2 separate regions of the Homo sapiens genome follow, and region 2 is linked to region 1. Evidence: promoter capture Hi-C in 16 types of primary human blood cells and fetal thymus (Javierre and others, 2016). All regions are on one chromosome and are shown on one strand. Each heading gives the region's core, a stretch centred on a gene start or on the middle of the fragment in contact. The rest is flanking DNA. Distances are from core to core; before and after follow the strand shown.

Region 1 (3,862 bases), core at 1,321-3,820:
CAACATAGCGAGACCCCATCTCCATGAAATAAAAAAAAATCCCACAAGCAGAGAGGCAGGAGGTGTAGGTGCCAGGCCACTGGGACCCAGCTACAGAGTCAGTGGTGAGCAGTGGAGGCAGCCCCATGCCCCCCTTTTTCTCCTAGGCCCTTCCTCACCAGACTCTGTCCTGAGACCTCGGCGGTACCCCCAGGTTCCAGATGAGAAGGACTTAATGACTCAGCTGCGCCAGGTGAGCAGAGGCGGGAGCTGCGTGGGCAGGGGCCTGGGCCGGGCACCTCCTTGTGTTGCTGTCCTTGGGACCAGCCTCCCTCCACATCCTCTGTGCCCACTCTGGCACCTCCCCTGAGGACAGGAAGGGACAGGCACAAGTTCCCTGCTAGCCCTGAGCCCCCCACTCTCCCTGCCTCCCAGACGCCTCTCCTTCCCTGACCCCTGCTCTATGTGGTCTACACTGCCAGGTCCTTGAGTCCCGGCTGCAGCGGCCCCTGCCTGAGGACCTGGCCGAGGCTCTGGCCAGTGGGGTCATCCTGTGCCAGCTGGCCAACCAGCTACGGCCGCGCTCCGTGCCCTTCATCCATGTGCCCTCCCCTGCTGTGGTCAGTTGGGGCTGGGGAAGAGGTGGGGGATGGGCCGGGGCGCCTGTGGCCTCTCCCTTACCACATTTTCTTCTTTCACCCACCCCAGCCAAAACTCAGTGCCCTCAAGGCTCGGAAGAATGTGGAGAGTTTTCTAGAAGCCTGTCGAAAAATGGGGGTGCCTGAGGTATGGGGGCTGCTTTCTAAAGAGTGGTGGCATGCCGGACTCAGCCGAGCATGTGGCATGGATGGTGGGCTTCCATTTGCAGCGGATGTCTGCTCTCAGATGAAGGCACAGGCTGCCCCTGCCCTGCCCAGCATGCCCCCTGCCCTGCATGCCCCCTGCCCTGCATGTCACCTGTCCTACACATCCCCTGCCCTGCAGGCCCCATCTTGTCCTGCATGTCACCTGTCCTGCACATGCCCTGCCCTGCACTCCTCCTGCACTGCACTCCCCCTGCCCAGCACGTCAGCATGTGGGCGTGGTTCTGGCCCCAGCACGTGAGGGCAGGGGTGGGAGGGACTGTCCTGCTGCTGCTGCTGACGTCTGTCCCTTGTCCTTGTCCACCTGCTCTCCTCTCCCCCAGGCTGACCTGTGCTCGCCCTCGGATCTCCTCCAGGGCACTGCCCGGGGGCTGCGGACCGCGCTGGAGGCCGTGAAGCGGGTGGGGGGCAAGGCCCTACCGCCCCTCTGGCCCCCCTCTGGTCTGGGCGGCTTCGTCGTCTTCTACGTGGTCCTCATGCTGCTGCTCTATGTCACCTACACTCGGCTCCTGGGTTCCTAGGCCCCAAAATCGGCCCTCCCTCACCCCTTTCCCTTCCTCTCTATTTATAAGGTCCCTGCTCCACCCGACCCCACCTGCGGTGCCTTCAGCCCCAACCAAAGACACTAGTGCACCCCCTTCACAGACACTGACCTCAGAGGCCCCACTCTGGTGCCCCCAGACCCTGGGCCCCCAGCCTCTGGCCTCCCTCCAGTAGCCCCACGAGTCCCCACCTCTCAGTGCTGACGGTGCCTTCATGTCCCCGCCGGCCCTGCCCCTGCCCTCTGTACCCCGTGAGGGGTGGCAGGAGCTGGAGTCTCCCCCTTCCTCCTGTGCCCTCCCCTTCCCCCCCCAACAGCTGCTATGGGGGGGCTAAATTATCTCTATTTTGTAGAGAGGATCTATATTTGTAGGGGTTCGGGGCCCAGGCCGGGTCCCTATCTCTGTGTATAAACTGTACAGACCGTGGCCGCCCTGCCTGTGTGTGTGTGTGTGCGCGCGCGCGCGCGTCTGCTCCGCGTGTTGGTGGCTGTGGCCATGGCTCTGTGCCCACCAGCATCTCCCTCCTGAGATGCCGGCCTCTCATGCTCCCGGAGCGTCCGCCAACCCCCCGTGTCACCTCCCTTCTGTTATCGCTGACAGCTTTCTTGCGTCTCATTTGTCGCCGAGCCCCGAGCGCACGGTGATGCTCGGGTCTGCCCCCGACCCCCTGCCACAGGCCGGAAGCCGCAGGGGGCACCGTGGGGAAGCTAACCCGGCCCCTTCCCCCAGGAGTCACTGTGCCAGCCCCACCACATCCTGGAAGAGGAGGGGGCCCCGGGAAGGGGCCTCCCCTACATCGCTGCTGTCGTCCACGCCCTGCTGGACCGGCCTTAGGGGTGAAGGTGGGGGCACAGGGCCCACCCCGCCCGGGACCCCGGGAGCAGAAGACGCGCCTGGGCTCCGCGCTCTCAGAGAAGCACGTGGTGAGGGTGGCCTGGGCCTGGGCACCCTTGGCCTGCCGGCCTGGCTGCCTCTGGGGTCGAGGGTCTGGGTGGAAGGACCGCGGGTGTCGCAGGTGTCGTGTCAGCCGCAATAAACAGAAGCCAGAAGCCCTCTGGGTGGCCCTCAGGTGTAACTGTGTCTGAGAGCACGTGCGTCGCGGGGTTGTTGGGGGGGCCTCTGTTTCCGGAATTCACCGCCCAGTCGCCAGGGGGCGCCCGCGGGAGCCCGGCGGGGGCACGCGCCACGTGGCCGGGAGACGCACAGGGCGCCAGCGTCGCCGCGAGGCCTCTGGGGTGGGTTCGCCAGGAGGGCACGTTCGCGCCGCGCCGCGGAGGGAGGCTGAGAGGGCCGGGCCGGGCGGCGGGGACACGGCGGTACCGTCCTGCGCTCGGGAACGCGGAATGTTGCCCTGGTCGCCGCCGCGGTGGGGCGCGGGCCCGGAGGAGGCGCCCGAGGGACCAGGCCTTCCGGCGGGCAAGGACCAGGGCGAGCCCTGGAGCGCCGGAGCGGACGCCCCCAGGGAGCTGGGGACACCCCCATGGGACAGGTGAGGGGCTCGGACGGAGCCGTGGGGGGACAGCGACTGGGGGCCTCCATGCCTTCACCACGCGCTCTACGGAGGCTTCTCCATTGTCCCTGCTGGAGATTGGGTCCCTCGGTCTCCCTTGCACCAGGCACCCTTGGGCTCCAGGGGAGGGTGCGTGGGGGCGGTGTGGCTGCAGCCTCAGTCCCTGCCCCTCCAGCCCACAGCCCCCATCCCGTAGCCCTTCCTGGATCTGGAGAGAGCAGCTGCTGCTGCCCCACCACCTGCCAGGCCCGGCCACTGAGCAGCCCCCCGGAGCCCCAGGTAGGACAGGCCCTGCTGCCTCTACTACCCCTAAGAGCCTCTCACTGACTGTGAGCCTGTTATAATCCCCAAGCGTCCCCCCAGATCCCCGTTCCCCCCAGGTGGCCTGGGAGGTGGCCCCCTCGAGGATGACTCCACTAGCGCCCTGGGACCCCAAGTATGAAGCCAAAGCAGGACCTCGGCCGGTGTGGGTGAGTTGGGGGCAAACCTGTGGGACTGGCTGGGGTGCTCAGGGAGCTGTGCGGTGGCCTGAGGCTCCAGTGCTCTGTCCTCCTCACCCTAGGGGGCCAACTGTAGCTCAGGAGCCTCGTTCTCAGGCCGGACGCTGTGTCACCCCTCATTCTGGCCGCTGTATGAAGCAGCCTCGGGCAGGGGTCTCAGGCCCGTGGCCCCTGCCACAGGGCACTGGAATGGACAGCAGGCGCCCCCAGATGCAGGTACCTCCCTTGGTCCCCCGGGGGCGCAAGGCTGCCCCAACTCCTCTGGGAACCAGTGCCCAGGGGTGGGAGCCCGCAGCCCGCCACCCTAGTGGTGTTTCCTCCTAGGGTTCCCGGTGGTGTGCTGTGAAGATGTCTTCCTCTCGGACCCTCTGCTGCCCCGGGGGCAGCGTGTTCCCCTGTACCTGTCCAAGGCCCCCCAGCAGGTGAGAGCTCTTTCCCCTCCCTGTCCTTACCCCAGCCTCCAGGCTT
Region 2 (3,719 bases), core at 781-3,280, 270 kb before region 1:
ATCCCAGCACTTTGGGAGGCCGAAGCAGGAGGATCACTTGAGGTCAGGAGTTCAAGACCAGCCTGGCCATCATGGTGAAACCCCATCTCTACTAAAAATACAAAAATTAGCTGGGCCTGGTGGTACACGCCTGTAATTCCAGCTACTCGGGAGGTTCAGGCACTCCCACCTAGGCGACAGAGCAAGAGTCCATCTCAAAAAAAAAAAAACAAAAAACTAACCAAACAAAAAAACTCTCCTTATATTAGTTGTCTATCCTAGCTCTTTCTTTCTTTCTTTCTTTCTTTCTTTTCTTTCTTTCTTTCCTTTTTTTTGAGATGGAGTCTAGCTCTGTCACCCAGGCTGGAGTGCAGTGGCACGATCTCGGCTCACTGCAAGCTCTGCCTCCCAGGTTGAAGCGATTCTCCTGCCTCAGCCTCCCAAGTAGCTGGGACTACAGGCTCCCGCCACCACGCACGGCTAATTTTTTGTATTTTTAGTGGAGACGGGGTTTCACCGTGTTAGCCAGAATGGTCTCGATCTCCTGACCTCGTGATCCGCCCGCCTTGGCCTCCCAAAGTGCTGGAATTACAGGCGTGAACCACTGCGCCCAACCTCTTTTCAACATTTATACCCAGTCCCTTCACGATCTCATCCAGTCTCATAGTTCTATTTTTTCTGTATTTATTTATTATTTATTTATTTATTTATTTATTTATTTTTGAGACTTGGTCTCACTCTGTCGCCTAGGCTGGAGTACAGTGGCACCATCATAGCTCACAGCAACCTCTATCTCCCAGGCTCAAGCAATCCTCCTGCCTCAGCCTCCTGAGTAGCTATAGGCACATGCACCCATGCCTGGCTAATTTTTTATATTTTGTAGAGACAGGTTCTCACTATGTTGCCCAGGCTGGTCTTGAACTGTTGGGCTCAAGTAATCTTCCCACCTCAGCCTCCCAAAATGCTGGGATTACAGACATGAGCCACCGCACCCGGCCCAATCTGTTTTAATACCATCTATATGATAGTGCCTCCAAGGGTGTACCTCTAGCCCAGACCTCTACTCTGAACTTCAGGCTGTATAGCCAACAATCTACTACCATCTTTTTCTATTTTTTTTTTTTTTTTTTTTTTTTTGAGATGGAGTCACTCTGTCGCCCAGGCTGCAGTGCAGTGGTGAGAGCTCTGCTCACTGCAACTTCCACCTCCCGGGTTCAAGCGATTCTCCTGCCTCCGCCTCTCAAGTAGCTGGGATTACAGGCACGTGCCACCATGCCTGGCTCATTTTTGTATTTTTAGTAGTGATGGGGTTTCGCCATGTTGGCCAGGCTGGTCTTGAACTCCTGACCTCACGTGATCCGCCCACCTTGGCCTCCCACAGTGTTAGGATTACAGGCGTGAGCCATGGCACCCGGCTCTACTACCATCTCTGCTTGGACATCAAATGGGCAACTCAAGCTTGGTATGTCCAAAACTAAATACTCAAACTCCCACCACCTGCTCCTCCTGTGGTCCTCTCAGGCCGGAAACCTGGGGTTACACCGGAATACTCTCACATCCAACATCCACACCATAGACAATTCCTTTGGCCTCCACTTTCAAGTTATAACCAGTCTGCAACCACATTTTACCACCCAAGTCCAAGCCACCATCACCTCTTCCGCTTTCACAATAGCCTCCTAACTGGTTTTCCCACTTCTGCACTTGTCCCAAAATCTATTCTCAGCTGAGCAGCTAGAGGGGTGCTGTTTAGGTAAACATCCATTCCCGATGGGTGCCACCTTTCATAATTCTCCAATGACATGCCTTTCTCCTCAAAGCAAAAGCCAAAGGCCACATCTGTAAATATGATGGCCTGACTCACCAACTACAGTCCTGCTGTATGCCTGATGCCTTGACTTCAATATTAACAGCATCTCCCGGCTGGGCGCGGTGGCTCACGCCTGTACTCCCACCATTTGGGGAGGCCAAGGCGGGTGGATCACTTGAGGTCAGGCGTTTAGGACCAGCCTGGCCAACATTGTATTTCCATTAATGTAGCAGGACGAGCCGCAGACAAAACTCCTCAGACACTGAGTTAAAGAAGGAAGGGGTTTATTCGGCCGGGGGCATCGGCAAGACTCTTGTCTCAAGAGCCAAGCTCCTCGAGTGAGCAATTCCTGTCTTTTTTAAGGGCTCACAACTCTCAGGGGGCGCGCAAGAGAGGGTCTTGATCGATTGAGCAAGCAGGGGGTACGTGACTGGGGGCTGCATGCACCGGTAATTAGATTGGAAGAAAACAGGACAGGGATTTTCACAGTGCTTTTCTATACAATGTCTATAATCTATAGATAACATAACCGATTAGGTCAGGGGTCGATCTTTAACTACTAGGCCTAGGGTGTGGCACCAGGCTGTCTGCTTGTGGATTTTATTTCTGCCTTTTAGTTTTTACTTTTTCTTTCTTTGGAGGCAGAAATTGGGCATAAGACAATATGAGGGGCGGTCTCTTCCTTTATTCCTCCCCTTTGAGACTCACTCAATAGTGGAAGTTCTCACTTTCATTCTCACTACCCATGTCTTCTTGCACGACAGATCGATAGTGATTCATATAGTACACTTGTGCTGAAGCATTTTGGTGAACTAAGGTAGCGATGAAGCTTTTTTTTTTTTTTGAGACGGAGTCTCACTTTGTCGCCCAGGCTAGAGTGCAGTGGCGCGATCTCGGCTCACTGCCAGCTCCGCCTCCTGGGTTCATGCCATTCTCCTGCCTCAGCCTCCCGAGTAACTGGGACTACAGGCGCCCGCCACCACGCCCGGCTCATTTTTTTGTATTTTTAGTAGAGACAGGGTTTCACCGTGTTAGCCAGGATGGTCTCCATCTCCTGACCTCGTGATCCACCCGCCTCGGCCTCCCAAAGTGCTGGGATTACAGGCGTGAGCCACCGCGCCCGGCCTGCAATGAAGCTTTTTATCATTTGAAGAAGTACAGGTAGCAAACAAAGGAGCAGTAAGCAGGTTCCTATTACTATTATAACTCTTATTATAAGACTTTTAAATTCTCTTAGCACTGGGAACCATTTTCTAAACATGGCCTCAGGATCAAATCCATGCCACACTTGCCTAGGCACATGTGCCAGTTTTGTCATATCTCTATGTCTTCAACTACTTGCCTTTGATTATCTATGTGTAGGCAGCAATTAGTAAGGTTAAATTTCTTACAGACCTCTCCTTCAGCTGCTAGCAAGTAGTCGAGAGCTAATCTATTTTGATAGAGAGCATTTCTCATCTGAGTTTCTTGCCGGCCTAGAATAGTCAAGGCTCTGCTGGTTTTATTAGTGATTATTTTTAAGACAGCTTGTAACCATATGATTCAGTTGATTATATAAATGGGGGTCCAGTATCTTCACGAGCCGTCTTGTGTCTAAGTAGCAGGCCTATAATATTGTATGATTCTCTCAGAGGGCCATTTATCATTTTTTGAATTTCCTATGGCTATGCTTCTCTTTTCACGGGAAGCATAGACAGGGAAGCCTAGGAGTTGGCCTGTTTTTATGGGCAGTAGGAAGAAAGATGGTTTAATAGTGCCAATAGGCCGGGCGTGGTGGCCCACGCCTATAATCCCAGCACTTTGGGAGGCCGAGGCGGGTGGATCACAAGGGCAGGAGATCGAGACCATCCTGGCTTACATGGTGAAACCCCGTCTCTACTAAAAATACAAAAAATTAGCCGGGCATGGTGGCGGGCTCCTGTAGTCCCAG

Evidence for each region. Contacts are between HindIII fragments. The CHiCAGO score rates a contact against its expected background, and 5 or more counts as called.
Region 2: a fragment that was not itself captured here is called in contact with the fragment with the promoter of SAP25 in region 1 in 9 of 17 cell types (total B cells, total CD8 T cells, naive B cells and 6 more); the score reaches 8.7 in total B cells.

Annotation. Positions count from the first base shown.
Region 1 is chr7:100,572,608-100,576,469 of GRCh38, reverse strand. It overlaps SAP25 (Sin3A associated protein 25), which reads left to right and starts at 2,570. Exons shown (of 6, transcript NM_001348680.2): 1 at 2,570-2,873; 2 at 3,070-3,173; 3 at 3,258-3,364; 4 at 3,457-3,610; 5 at 3,719-3,816. The coding sequence starts at 2,728. LRCH4 (leucine rich repeats and calponin homology domain containing 4) reads left to right here. Exons shown (of 18, transcript NM_002319.5): 15 at 147-232; 16 at 462-599; 17 at 688-765; 18 at 1,166-2,459. The coding sequence ends at 1,363. RefSeq lists enhancers at 598-1,151, 1,152-1,706. The HindIII fragment of the contact is 23,848 bases long and covers 1-3,862 here.
Region 2 is chr7:100,845,481-100,849,199 of GRCh38, reverse strand. All of the region lies in intron 1 of SLC12A9-AS1 (SLC12A9 antisense RNA 1), which reads left to right. It also overlaps a transcript of SLC12A9 not described here. Among named protein-coding and RNA genes, the nearest start is that of SLC12A9-AS1, 5.3 kb to the left of the region's middle. The HindIII fragment of the contact is 1,181 bases long and covers 1,440-2,620 here.